2 separate regions of the Homo sapiens genome follow, and region 2 is linked to region 1. Evidence: promoter capture Hi-C in human tissues and cell types (Jung and others, 2019). All regions are on one chromosome and are shown on one strand. The core of a region is centred on a gene start or on the middle of the fragment in contact, and the rest is flanking DNA. Distances in the headings are between cores, read along the strand shown. Region 1 holds the start of PLEKHB1 (pleckstrin homology domain containing B1). Region 2 overlaps FAM168A (family with sequence similarity 168 member A).

Region 1 (5,681 bases), core at 3,182-5,681:
GCCTTAAAAAAAATTAGAAAAATATTTTATTAGTTTTAAAAACTTTTTACATCTCAACAACAAAAGCCAAATAACCCAATTAAAAAATGGACAAAAGATTAGAATAAACATTTCCCCAAAGAAGGTATACAAATGTCTAATAAGCACATGAAAAGATAACCAACATTGCCAGGCGCGGTGGCTCACGCCTGTAATCCCAGCACTTTGGGAGGCCGAGGTGGGCGGATCACAAGGTTAGGAGTTCGAGACCATCCTGGCTAACATGGTGAAACCCCATCTCTATTAAAAAATACAAAAAATTAGCCGGGCGCGATGGCGGGCGCCTGTAGTCCCAACTACTCAGGAGGCTGAGGCAGGAGAATGGCGTGAACCCAGGAGGCGGAGCTTGCAGTGAGCTGAGATCGCACCACTGCACTTCAGCCTGGGCTGAACAGAGCGAGACTCCGTCTCAAAAAAAAAAAAAACAAGATAACCAACATCATTCGTCATTAGGGTAATGCAAATAAAAAACACAAGGAGTGAATACTTAAGACAGACAATAACAAGTGTTGGCTAGGACATAGAAATATCGGAACTCTTAGAGGTTGTTGATGGGCGTGTAAAATGGTGCAATCACTTTGAAAATAATTTGACAGTTCCTCAGAATGTTAAACGTAGAGTTACCACATGACCCAGAAATTTCACACCCAAGAGAAAATAAAGCATATATATGTCCACACAAAAATGTGTACACAAATGTTCACAGCAGTATTATAATAGCTAAAGAGTAGAAATCACCCAAATATCTATCAACCAATGAATAGATAAATAAAACACGATATATCCATAAAATAGAATATTATTCATCAGTAAGAAGGAATGGGCCAGGCGCAGTGGCTCAGGCCTGTAATCCTAGCAGTTTGGGAAGCTGAGGAAGGAGGGCTGCTTGAGCCTAGGAGATGGAGACAAGCCTGGGCAACATAGCGAGACTCGGTCTCTGCCAAAAATACAAAAATTAGCCAGGTGTGATAGCATGTGCCTGTAGTCCCAGCTACTTGGGAGGCTGAGGTGGGAGGATTGCTTGAGCCAGAGAGGTTGAGGCTACAGTGAGATCGCACCATTGCACTCCAGCCTGGGTGACAGAGTAAGACCTTGTCTGAAAACAAAAACAAAAACAAAAACAAAAAACAAGGAATGAAATACTGATAACATGCTACAACCTGGATAAACTTTGAAAACATTATGCTAAGTGAAAGAAGCCAGTCACAAAGGGTCACACATTGCATGATTCCATTTATTTTTTAAAACTATTTATTTATTTAGAAACAAGGTCTCACTCTGTCACTGAGTCTGGAGTACAGCAGTGCAGTAACAGCTCACTATAACCTCAAACTCCTGGCCTCAAGAGATCCTCCTGCCTTCACCTCCCAAATCACTGGGATTATAGGTGTGAGCCAACTGCGCCTGGCCCATGATTCCATTTATATGAAATGGCCAGAATAGGCAAATCTGTACAGAAAGAAAGCAGATTAATTTTGCCAGGGACTTGGGGGGAAGACAGATTGGGAGTAACTGCTAAAGACTATAGGGTTTCTTTTCTTTTCTTTTTTTTTTTTTTTTTGAGATGGAGACTCGCTCTGTAGCCAGGCTGGAGTGCAATGGTGTGATCTCGGCTCACTGTAACCTCTGCTTCTCGGGTTCAAGTGATTCTCCTGCCTCAGCCTCCTGAGTAGCTGGGATTACAGGTGCGCGCCACCACGCCCAGCTAATTTTTGCATTTTTAGTAGAGACAGGGTCTCACCATGTTGGACAGGCTGGTCTCGAACTCCTGACCTCAGGTGATCCGCCACCCTTGGCCTCCCAAAGTGCTGGAATTACAGGCGTGAACTACCATGTCTGGCCTAGGGTTTCTTTTTAGGGTGATAAAAATGTTCTGAAGGCCAGGTGCGGTGGCTCACACCTGTAATCCCAGCACTTTGGGAGGCCGAGGCGGGCAGATCACGAGCTCAAGAGATCGAGACCATCCTGGCCAACATGGTGAAACTCCATCTCTAAAAATACAAAAATTAGCTGGGCATGGTGGTGCACGCTTGTAGTCCTAGCTACTCGGGAGGCTGAGGCAGGAGAATCACTTGAACCTGTGAGGCGGAGGTTGCAGTGAGCCGAGATCACACCACTGCACTCCAGCCTGGTGACAGGGCAAGACTCCATCAAAAAAAAAAAAAAAAATACCCACTGAATTTTTTACTTTAAAAGGGTGAATTTTATGGTAGGTGAATTACATCTCACTAAAATTATCACTTTGGCCGGGCGCAGTGGCTCACGCCTGTAATCCCGCTCTCAGGGAGGCAAGAGGCGGGAGGATAGCTTGAGCCCAGGAGTTCGAGACCTGCCTGGGCAATATGGCGAGACCCCGTTCTCCAGAAAAAGGAAAAAAAAAAAAAGACAAAAAAAAGCGTAAAATTATCACTTTAAAGTGTTTTCTTTTCTTTTTTTTTTTTTTTTTTTTTGAGACGGAGTTTAGCTCTTGTTGTCCAGGTTGGAGTGCAGTGGTGAAATCTCGGCTCACCACAATCTCTGCCTCCCGGTTCAAGCAATTCTCCCGCCTCAGCCTCCCTAGTAGCTGGGATTACAGGCATGTGCCACCACACCCAGCTAATTTTGTATTTTTAGTAGAGATGGGGTTTCTCCATATTGGTCAGGCTGGTCTCGAACTCCCGATCTCAGGTGATCTGCCCGCCTTGGCCTCCCAAAGTGCTGGGATTACAGGCATGAGCCACAGCGCCCGGCCATTTAAAATGTTTTCATAAGCACTTTTACTTTTGCTCAAATTGCATCTTGATATAAACTTCAAGTTTTTTAAAATAAAGATAATATAAATTATTCTCATTATATTATACTCTCTAGAAAATGTAAGTAGTAAATTTGAATTTGATGAGCCAGTCCACTATTTCCTAAACAATGTATTATCTGTGGGCTGTTCATTCACCAGGGACACTTGAAATGGCAAAATCTTTTCCTCTCTGCCAATGGTTCTGTGCACCATAGCCACAAAGAAATGTAAAAGTTACTTGTTGGCTTATTAGTCTCAATAAGTTTTAGTTGATTGAACAAACAAAGTCTCTCACAGCCAGGACTGCTGCGGCTGGAATTCCTGACATACTGTCATACCTCTCACTCGTCAATCTACACTCTCCTCCCATCTACACAGCTCTGGAAATTAAAAACAATCCAACCATGACTATCATGGCTTCAGAGGTCTATGAACTCCCAGGAATTATACGCAGATTTTTTCCTGAGGACAGTCTACACTTCCTTATTGGCTTCTCAAAGAGGGTCACTGACCAGCTTTTAGAGACATGGGCCAAGTCCGGCTACGTTTAGATTCGGTAGTAGTGTCTGTGGTTTTAGTTTGCCACGTCCTTTCCTCTTTTTTTCGTCATAGTGCCCGCTCTTTGGGAGGTAGGGGAGAGTCTTCCCCTGAAGTCTCCACTGCTGCTGGAGAACCTTCCTTTTTCATCTGGTTGCTAAATCCAGAGAATGAAATCTAGGAGATGATTGCACCGTCCCCGCCCCTCAACATGAAGGATGCCCCACTGCCCATCGGGGAGGGGAGCAGGGAGAGCTGGAGAGAGGCTGGGTCGGGGCAGGACCCAGGCGCAGATCCTCCGAGGCCAGCTGCAGCCCTACCTACCTGCCTTCCCGTCTTTCCCCTCCCTTCTTTTCTCCTTCTGTCTTTCCTTCCTTCCATATCTCTTTCCTTGCCTCTTTCCCCCTCCCACTGCTTCCTTTCTTCCTTCCACTGTGGAGGTGGAAAATTTAGCTAGGAGAAGCTGGGACTGGGACGTTCCAGGAACCAGACAGAGAGTGAGTTAAAGGCACAGAGATGAAAACGCGGTATGGGAGAGCTGGTTCTTGAGTCGGCTAAGAGGGGATGAACTCAATGGTTAATAGGATTGGCCATGGCGAATCCCTCAGCAGGGCACGCACCGCACAAAGGGCCGAGGAGCGAGGGTAGCTCGAGGTCAGGATTACAGAGACTCAGGAGCAAGAGAGGAAGGCTTAAAGAGCCAGACTGCGCAGCCAGGACTGGGGTGATGGGCGCTGTCCTGCCAGGCCAAAGAATGAAGATGTAGCCCCGCCCCCAACCTAGGGAGGAGGACCAGCCCGGTTCCTGTCCTGCCCCCGCAACCTCGCCCCGATTCCACTCCGGGAACCTCGGCGATGCTGAGCCAAGACCACTTCTGAATCAGGGATGACTTGTCTAGTGAACCTAGGGTCAGAGCCATCAGTTGGAAAGGCTGGGAGGAGCCTGGAGAAAGAGGGCGACCTTCCTTGGGATCTGTGCGCTCCCTCCTTGCCTCCCCCTCCAGCCTCCCACTTGGTAGCACCTTCCTGATCCCCTTATCTCTAAGGCGCTCAGGGAAATGCCCCGCTGCGGGAGCCTTCTGGGAAATGCTGCCCTGGCCACCCAGGAACCATGAGCCCTGCAGCCCCGGTAAGGAAGAGTTCTCTGGGACAGGAGGAAGGGCCCAGGGCAGGGTGGGCACCCTTGCCACATAGGGGACGGGACAGAAGTCTTTTAGGCCCTGACATCCTCTGGTCTCTGAATGACATCCTGTGGCTGCTGGTAGGTGAGGGTTTGCGGGGCTGAGCTATTGAAGGAAATGATCACAGTCCGAGGTGATAGATACAGAAAGTCTTCCTTTCTCCAGGTGGGCTCCCGCCAGTCCATTCTTCACTGTGCCCTAGAGGGGCCTTTCCGACCCCCTAATCACACACCTCACTCCTCATCTTGAAACTCCCACCCCCAGCTCCAGTCACTGCGTCCTAACATCCAAGCTCTCCGCCTGTCATGCAAGGCCTCTGTGCTATTTCTTTCCAAACCCTGCAGCTCTATCGCCTGACACTCCCGATGCCCTCCCCACCCCTGCGCTTTATGTTCTAGACACACGGAAATGCTGGGCACTCTTCAACATCCTGACAGTATTCATAGGGGAAATTTCGGGTCGCCTAGGAAACTGCCCCTCATCCTCCAAGGCCCCTTTCAGCCTCCTCTGGGAAGCCTTCCTGAACCCCTTGAGAAAAGTCAGGCTCATCTTTTCCATTGTTAAATCACACCTTGTGCTCCAATTGTGTGTTTCCATGTAATCTCCCTCACTAGACTGGAAGCTGGGGATGGAAAGGGGAAGCATCAAAAAAACATGCAAAACTAGGAGCTTGGCTTCTCCTTGCAACTTTACTTTTTCTTTTTTTCTAGGAACTGAGTTCAATGATTCTTAAGAAAAAGTATTTCATGATAAATGAGTGAACAAATGTCTTAATAGAAAAGTAAAATTGCAGGCGGGGCTGCTTCTGCCCAGCTCTACAGGGGTAGACTACAAGTCCCAGTACGCCTCGGGTCAGCATCTCTTCACGTCACTCCCCCTCCCTGGGGTGGGCAGGTCCGGAGGGCGGGGCCCGGGGGCAGCTGGGCTCTCAGGCGCTGCGGGAGGAGAGAAATGCCCCAGGCTCTCCGGGGCACACAAAGCGCAGGCGCAGCGGGTTGGGTGGCAGCAGCATCGAGTAGCGGCCGCTTAGGCAGCAACATCCGCAACAAGTGTAGACAAGGTGGGTGCATCAAGGGGAGGGGCTGGAAAAGGAGTCTGCACCTGACCCTCTTGTCTGATCTGTGTCAAGACCGTGGAGAGGGGAGGGAGCGG
Region 2 (5,681 bases), core at 2,048-4,547, 65 kb before region 1:
TGAGGAGGGAAAGACTTCAAAGGGGCACCAAGAAACTTGGGAGGTGATGGATATGTTCACCATCTGCTTTGTGGTGATGGTTTCATGGGTGTATATGTATGTCAAAACTTAGCAAATTGTACATAAAATTTGTATCACTTACTGTATGCCAATTTTACTTCAATGAAGCTGTTTAGGAGAAAATACACTCACACACAAACACACACACACAATTTTCTTTTTACTAACCACTGACTACCACCCCAGAATATCTGCCCTAAAACTGTCTGATCACAGGGAGGCCAGGCCAAAGATTTCTTTCCCTAACCAATTTAGTTTCAAGTTTATGTAAACGGTTAGTAAAACATCACTGAAAGTTTTAAATACCCAAGAATAACAAATTACTTCCAAGCACTCTACAGCATTTCAGAATACGTTTCCATACAAATGAAATGTTAATTACAAAATGTAGCCTGGTAAAAGAATAAACAGTAAAGTCTTTGGCATCACACAAACCTGGATTGAATCCCATCCTTGCCTCTTACTATGAATCTAATCAGGTTTCTAAATCTGTATTCACCTTCTCATTTATAAAATGAAAGTGACAATAGCAATGCTATCCATCTTAGTCAGCTCAGGCTGCTGTGTACATAACAGAATACCACAAACATTTATTTTTCACAGGTCTGGAGGCTGGGAAGTCCAAGATCAAGGTACTAGCAGATCTGGTGTCTGGTGACAGTCAGCTTCCTGGTTTGCAGATGGCCCTCTTCTCACTGTATCCTCACATAGTGGAAAGCAGAGAGAGAGGAAGTAAGCTCTCTGGTGTCTCTTCTTATACAGGCACTTATAGAGCTCCATCCTAATGACCTAATTACTTCCCAAAAATCCCACCCCAAACATCACACTGAGGATTAGGGTTTCAACATATGAATTTTGGTGGGATACACTCAGTCCATAGCACTACCATTTTCTGAAATCATACTATGTGCCAAACACTGAACTAAGCACTTTAGTTACTTCCTAACAATTATATAATGTAAATACCATTATGTCTCCATCTAATGGATAGAGAAAATAAGTTATAGAAAGATTAAGTAACTATATAATATAAATGCCATTAATTCTCCACCTAATAGATGGAGAAAATAAGTTATAGAAAGATTAAGTAACTTTGAAGGTCACACTGCAAGGAAGTACAATAGCTGAGATTTAAACTCACCTTACAAAATTATTGAGGAATAACTGGAAGAAGGAGGTAAAATATCATCAGTGTCAGTAAAGCATAAATAACAGAATTCCCCCCACCCACCATTTAGAGCAAGTTTCTCTAAAGAAATGTAATTAAATGGAAATTTGTTTAATATTCCATAAATTAACTTTTAACTGATAAAAGCTAGTGGTAAGCAATTTATCCAGTTTATTCCTAATTCACAGTCTACAAAGTAACTATTATTTTTCTCCTTTACTGATGGAGAAAATGAAACTCTGAAATGTTAAATAACCTTCAGCAGCACAGACATAAGTTGCATCACTTGGATGCAAGCATAAGTCTTCTGACAAGAAATGAGGCTCTTTCTAGTTCAGCTGGTTGCTATCCAAGCCACTCAGAAGCAAACTCAATAATTTTTCAGATACCATTCATTTAGGTACCTTAAGCAGTATCTTGTACAATAGCACAGAATCAAAGTTTCATGGATCTGAACTTTAAAATATTTGCCTTGATACATGTTTATAGTGTTAGCACTTCATAAATGATGTCTACACACTAATATACTCAATATTTTCCTCACTTATTTCTGGTTTGGGTAAGAAAACTGATGCTACAATCTGTCAAAATATAATTGTCAATGAATAAGTAAAAAACAAAAACCAGAAGAAGAGGTGAGAACGACCCCCAGACCAACCAAAGCCTGTGCTCCGCTGCATCCCACGCCCAGTGCCTACGTCCCGCTGCCGTCACTGTCGCCGCCACCATGCCCAAGAAAGGCTGAAGGGGATGCTAAAGGAGATAAAGCCAAGGTGAAGGATGAACCACAGAGAAGATCCACAAGGTTGTCTGCTAAACCTGCTCCTCCAAAGATAGAGCCCAGGCCAAAAAAGCCCCTGCAAAGAAGGGAGAGAAGGTACCCAAAGGGAAAAAGGGAAAAGCTGAGGCTGGCCAGGATGGGGATAACCCTACAGAAAATGGAGATGCCAAAACAGACCAGGGACAGAAAGCTGAAGGTGCTGGAGATGCCAAGCGAAGTGTGTGCATTTTTAATAACCATGTACTTCTGGTGACTGTACAGTTTGAAATACTATTTTTAATCAAGTTTTATAAAAATGCAGAATTTTGTTTTACTTTTTTAAGCTATGTTGTTAGCACACAGAACATGTCCTTGTTGTTTTGAGAGGAAGGGGCTTATGTCACTAATAAAATGTCTCCAAAGCTGGATTGATGTGGGGAAAACACCTTTCCCTTCCAGTTTTGAGAGACTTCCTCTTGGCTCCCAGGAGCAGGGATTCCCTGACTTTGACACACATGGCCACCTTGGCACAAAAGCTTTGTGGTATGGAAAAACAAATTTGTTTTTATGTCCTCTTCTCCCTTTCTACCTTTCAGCTAGACTTAACTCCCTTAAACCCAGACATCTGTTGGGACCTGACCCCTAATCATTGGTTACCAGTGTGTCAGGCAATCTGGACTTTCCAGTGATGCCACTGAGATGGCACCTGTCAAAAGAGCAGTGGTTCCGTTTCTAGATTGTGGATCTTCAGGTAAATTCTGTCACTTTCACTTCACTTCCTGAAAGTCAGGGTCAGCTTATGAAAAGTTGTTAAACAACATGCTAAATGTGAAATGTCAACCCTCACTCTAAACTTTCCCTGTTCAGAGCATCAGATGAAGACTTCATTGGGTTTTATAGTGGCTTTCTGATTTTTGGTAGGCCATTAAAGAAGGGAGTTTGAAAGTTGTTGTATACTGTTAACGATTGTCTGCACATGTCCTGTCTGAAATGCCATGATTGTTTACGGACAGTATCTTTAATAAAGCTGGATACAGTTTGGCTTGGAAAAAAACAGAATATAATACTTGTATACCACATTTATGAGCTAAAAAACAGAATACTTGTATATCACATTTATGAGCTTCTTTCAAATGTATTGAATTTCAAAGGTGGATATAGATATGACTGTCCCCACTTTACATGGGAAAAAACTGAGATTCACAGAGTACTTAAACAACCTGTCCAAGTCAGACAGCTAGTAAGTGGCTAAGCTGGGGTTCAAATTCAGTTCTTCTGACTCCATGTCCAGAATTGTCCACACATAAGACCTAGTCTTCTTTCAAAAATAAGCTCAGGTTACTCTTCCTCCAAGAACTCTTCCCTAAAAAAAGGTTTGAATACCCTGTCTCTGCTACTTATTTTATAACATCTATAACATTGAACTGTAACTTGGTTTTTGTTTTTTTTTTGAGATGGAGTCTCCCTCTATTGCCCAGGCTGGAGTGCAGTGGCGCAATCTCGCCTCGCTGCAAACTCTGCCTCCCGGGTTCAAGCGATTATCCTGCCTCAGCCTCCTGAGTAGCTGGGACTACAGGCATGCGCCACCATGCCCAGCTAATTTTTGTATTTTTAGTAGAGACGAGGTTTCACCACGTTGGCCAGGATGGTCTCAAACTCCTGACCTTGTGATCCGCCCACCTCGGCCTCCCAAAGTGCTGGGATTACAGGCATGAGCCACCGCACCCAGCCAACTTATTTGTTTATACCTTGTCTCTATTGCATCTGGAGCTCCTTGAAGACAGCAACTACACCTTACTCATCTCCGTGTATCATCAAAACCAACCTAACATAGAGGCTGATATCCATGTTGACTAAAATAATGCATAGATGCATAAGTGATTATTTTTGCTTGCTACAAAGACTCTAATCAGCAAAATATTTTGGGGAATCCTAATTAAAATTGCCTGCCAGAGGCCGGGCACCGTGACTCATGCCTGTAATCCCAGCACTTTGGGAGGCCAAGGTGGGTGGATCACGAGGTCAGGAGATCGATACCATCCCGGCTAACACAGTGAAACCCCATCTCTACTAAAAATACAAAAAAAATTAGCCAGGCGTGGAGGCACACACCTGTAGTCCCAGCTACTCGGGAGGCTGAGGCAGGAGATTGGCATGAACCCAGGAGGCGGAGCTTGCAGTGAGTCGAGATGGTGCCATTGCACTCCAGCCTGGGGAAAAAAAAAATTGCCTGCCAGAAACTACTAATGGCTTAATAGGGTAATTAAAAACCCACATTTCTTAAAGTCTCAATCTTTCTACCATCAAATAGTTAAGTCAAGTCTTATATTTCAGTTGTAAAAATCAAATACACAAGCATTTGATACAATTTGGTTTTATAGCATTCATTTTATATTATCTACAAATTAAAACTGACCAAAGGTTAATAAAGAGGAAACTTTGAAGCAGAAAAAAGAACTCTAGACTGAGTCAGAAAAGCAATCATAAGGTCCCGTCTTCTCCATTTACCAATGTGATCTGCATTCATTCCAAGTGAGATTCCAGGGATCCGTCATAAATCAAGTTCTTTCTGAGTCTCATTGTGTCTACTGTGTACACAGCTCCACTGACCCAGCTATGGGCAAAGAGTAAAGGAAAGCTACATGAGAGTGGGCTAAAGTAGAGTAGAGACAACACAACGGGCAGGGAGCAAGGGGCAACAACAATGATAGAAGACACTCTATTAAAACTCAGCCCAGGCCAGGTGCAATGGCTCATGCCTATAGTCCCAGCACCTTGGGAGGCCAAGGCAGGCGGATCACGAGGTCAGGAGATCAAGACCATCCTGGCTAAAAGAGTGAAACCCCGTCTTTACTAAAAATACAAAAATTAGTTGGGCATGGTGGTGCATACCTGTAATCCCAGCTACTCGGGAGGCTGAGGCAGGAGAATTACTTGAACCCAGGAGGCAGAGGATGCAGTGAGCCGAGATCACGCCACTGCACTCCAGCCTGGGTGACAGAGCAAGACTCTGTCTCAAAAACAAAAACAAACAAACAAAAAAAACTCAGCCCAGAGCAACATGGAGTAACTGACTCATTGGGAAATTACAGCTGTTAATAGGCCAGTTTGAAATGATGGATTCACCTGACATGTCTTTACTGATGCTTATTCTGTACAAGGTCCCAAGATGGGCTCTGAGAATAAAAGGATGATCAGATACAACTCCTGTCCACTGCAAGTGGAAGAGACCAACAAATAATAAATGGATAACCACAATCAGAGTAACCCAGAGATGGGGTACCCAATCCCAACCTAGGAAATCACGGAAAACCTTCTGGAAAAGGTTATCTCCTAGGCTGAGTCTTAAAGGCTAAGTCAGAGTAGACCAATTAAGAGTAACAAAGAGATATCTAGGCCAAGAGAACAGCACGTGCAAAGACAGTGAGAAAAGAGGCACTGCACATCTGAAGAACTGCAGACATAGTACAATGCAAACTTCAGGAGTACTGGAGGTAAAACGCACAAGCCAGGAGGAGAGACAATAAATGACAATGGTGAAGAAGTTGGGGAGAGGATCTTGAACTACCTCAGATACCATATTGGGAAACCTGGACCTCATCTCAAAGGTTTTAAGTCAAGAGTTTAACACTAACTCCTATCTAGGAGACAGTGTCCCTACAATGACACTTGGTTGAAGGGCAGGCTTTCAGG

What was found. The method cuts DNA at HindIII sites, captures the fragments that hold promoters and counts their contacts. A contact is called where the count stands out against the background at its distance.
Region 2: a fragment that was not itself captured here is called in contact with the fragment with the promoter of PLEKHB1 in region 1 in 3 of the 25 tissues and cell types used here (IMR-90 fibroblasts, neural progenitor cells and spleen).

The regions. Positions count from the first base shown.
Region 1 is chr11:73,642,150-73,647,830 of GRCh38, forward strand. It overlaps PLEKHB1 (pleckstrin homology domain containing B1), which reads left to right and starts at 4,432. Exons shown (of 8, transcript NM_021200.3): 1 at 4,432-4,477. The coding sequence starts at 4,460. RefSeq lists enhancers at 3,997-4,915, 5,551-5,681 and a silencer at 5,291-5,510. The HindIII fragment of the contact is 18,602 bases long and covers 1-5,681 here.
Region 2 is chr11:73,578,298-73,583,978 of GRCh38, forward strand. The region is part of intron 1 of FAM168A (family with sequence similarity 168 member A); the gene reads right to left. It also overlaps the pseudogene HMGN2P38. Among named protein-coding and RNA genes, the nearest start is that of FAM168A, 17 kb to the right of the region's middle. The HindIII fragment of the contact is 9,693 bases long and covers 1-5,681 here.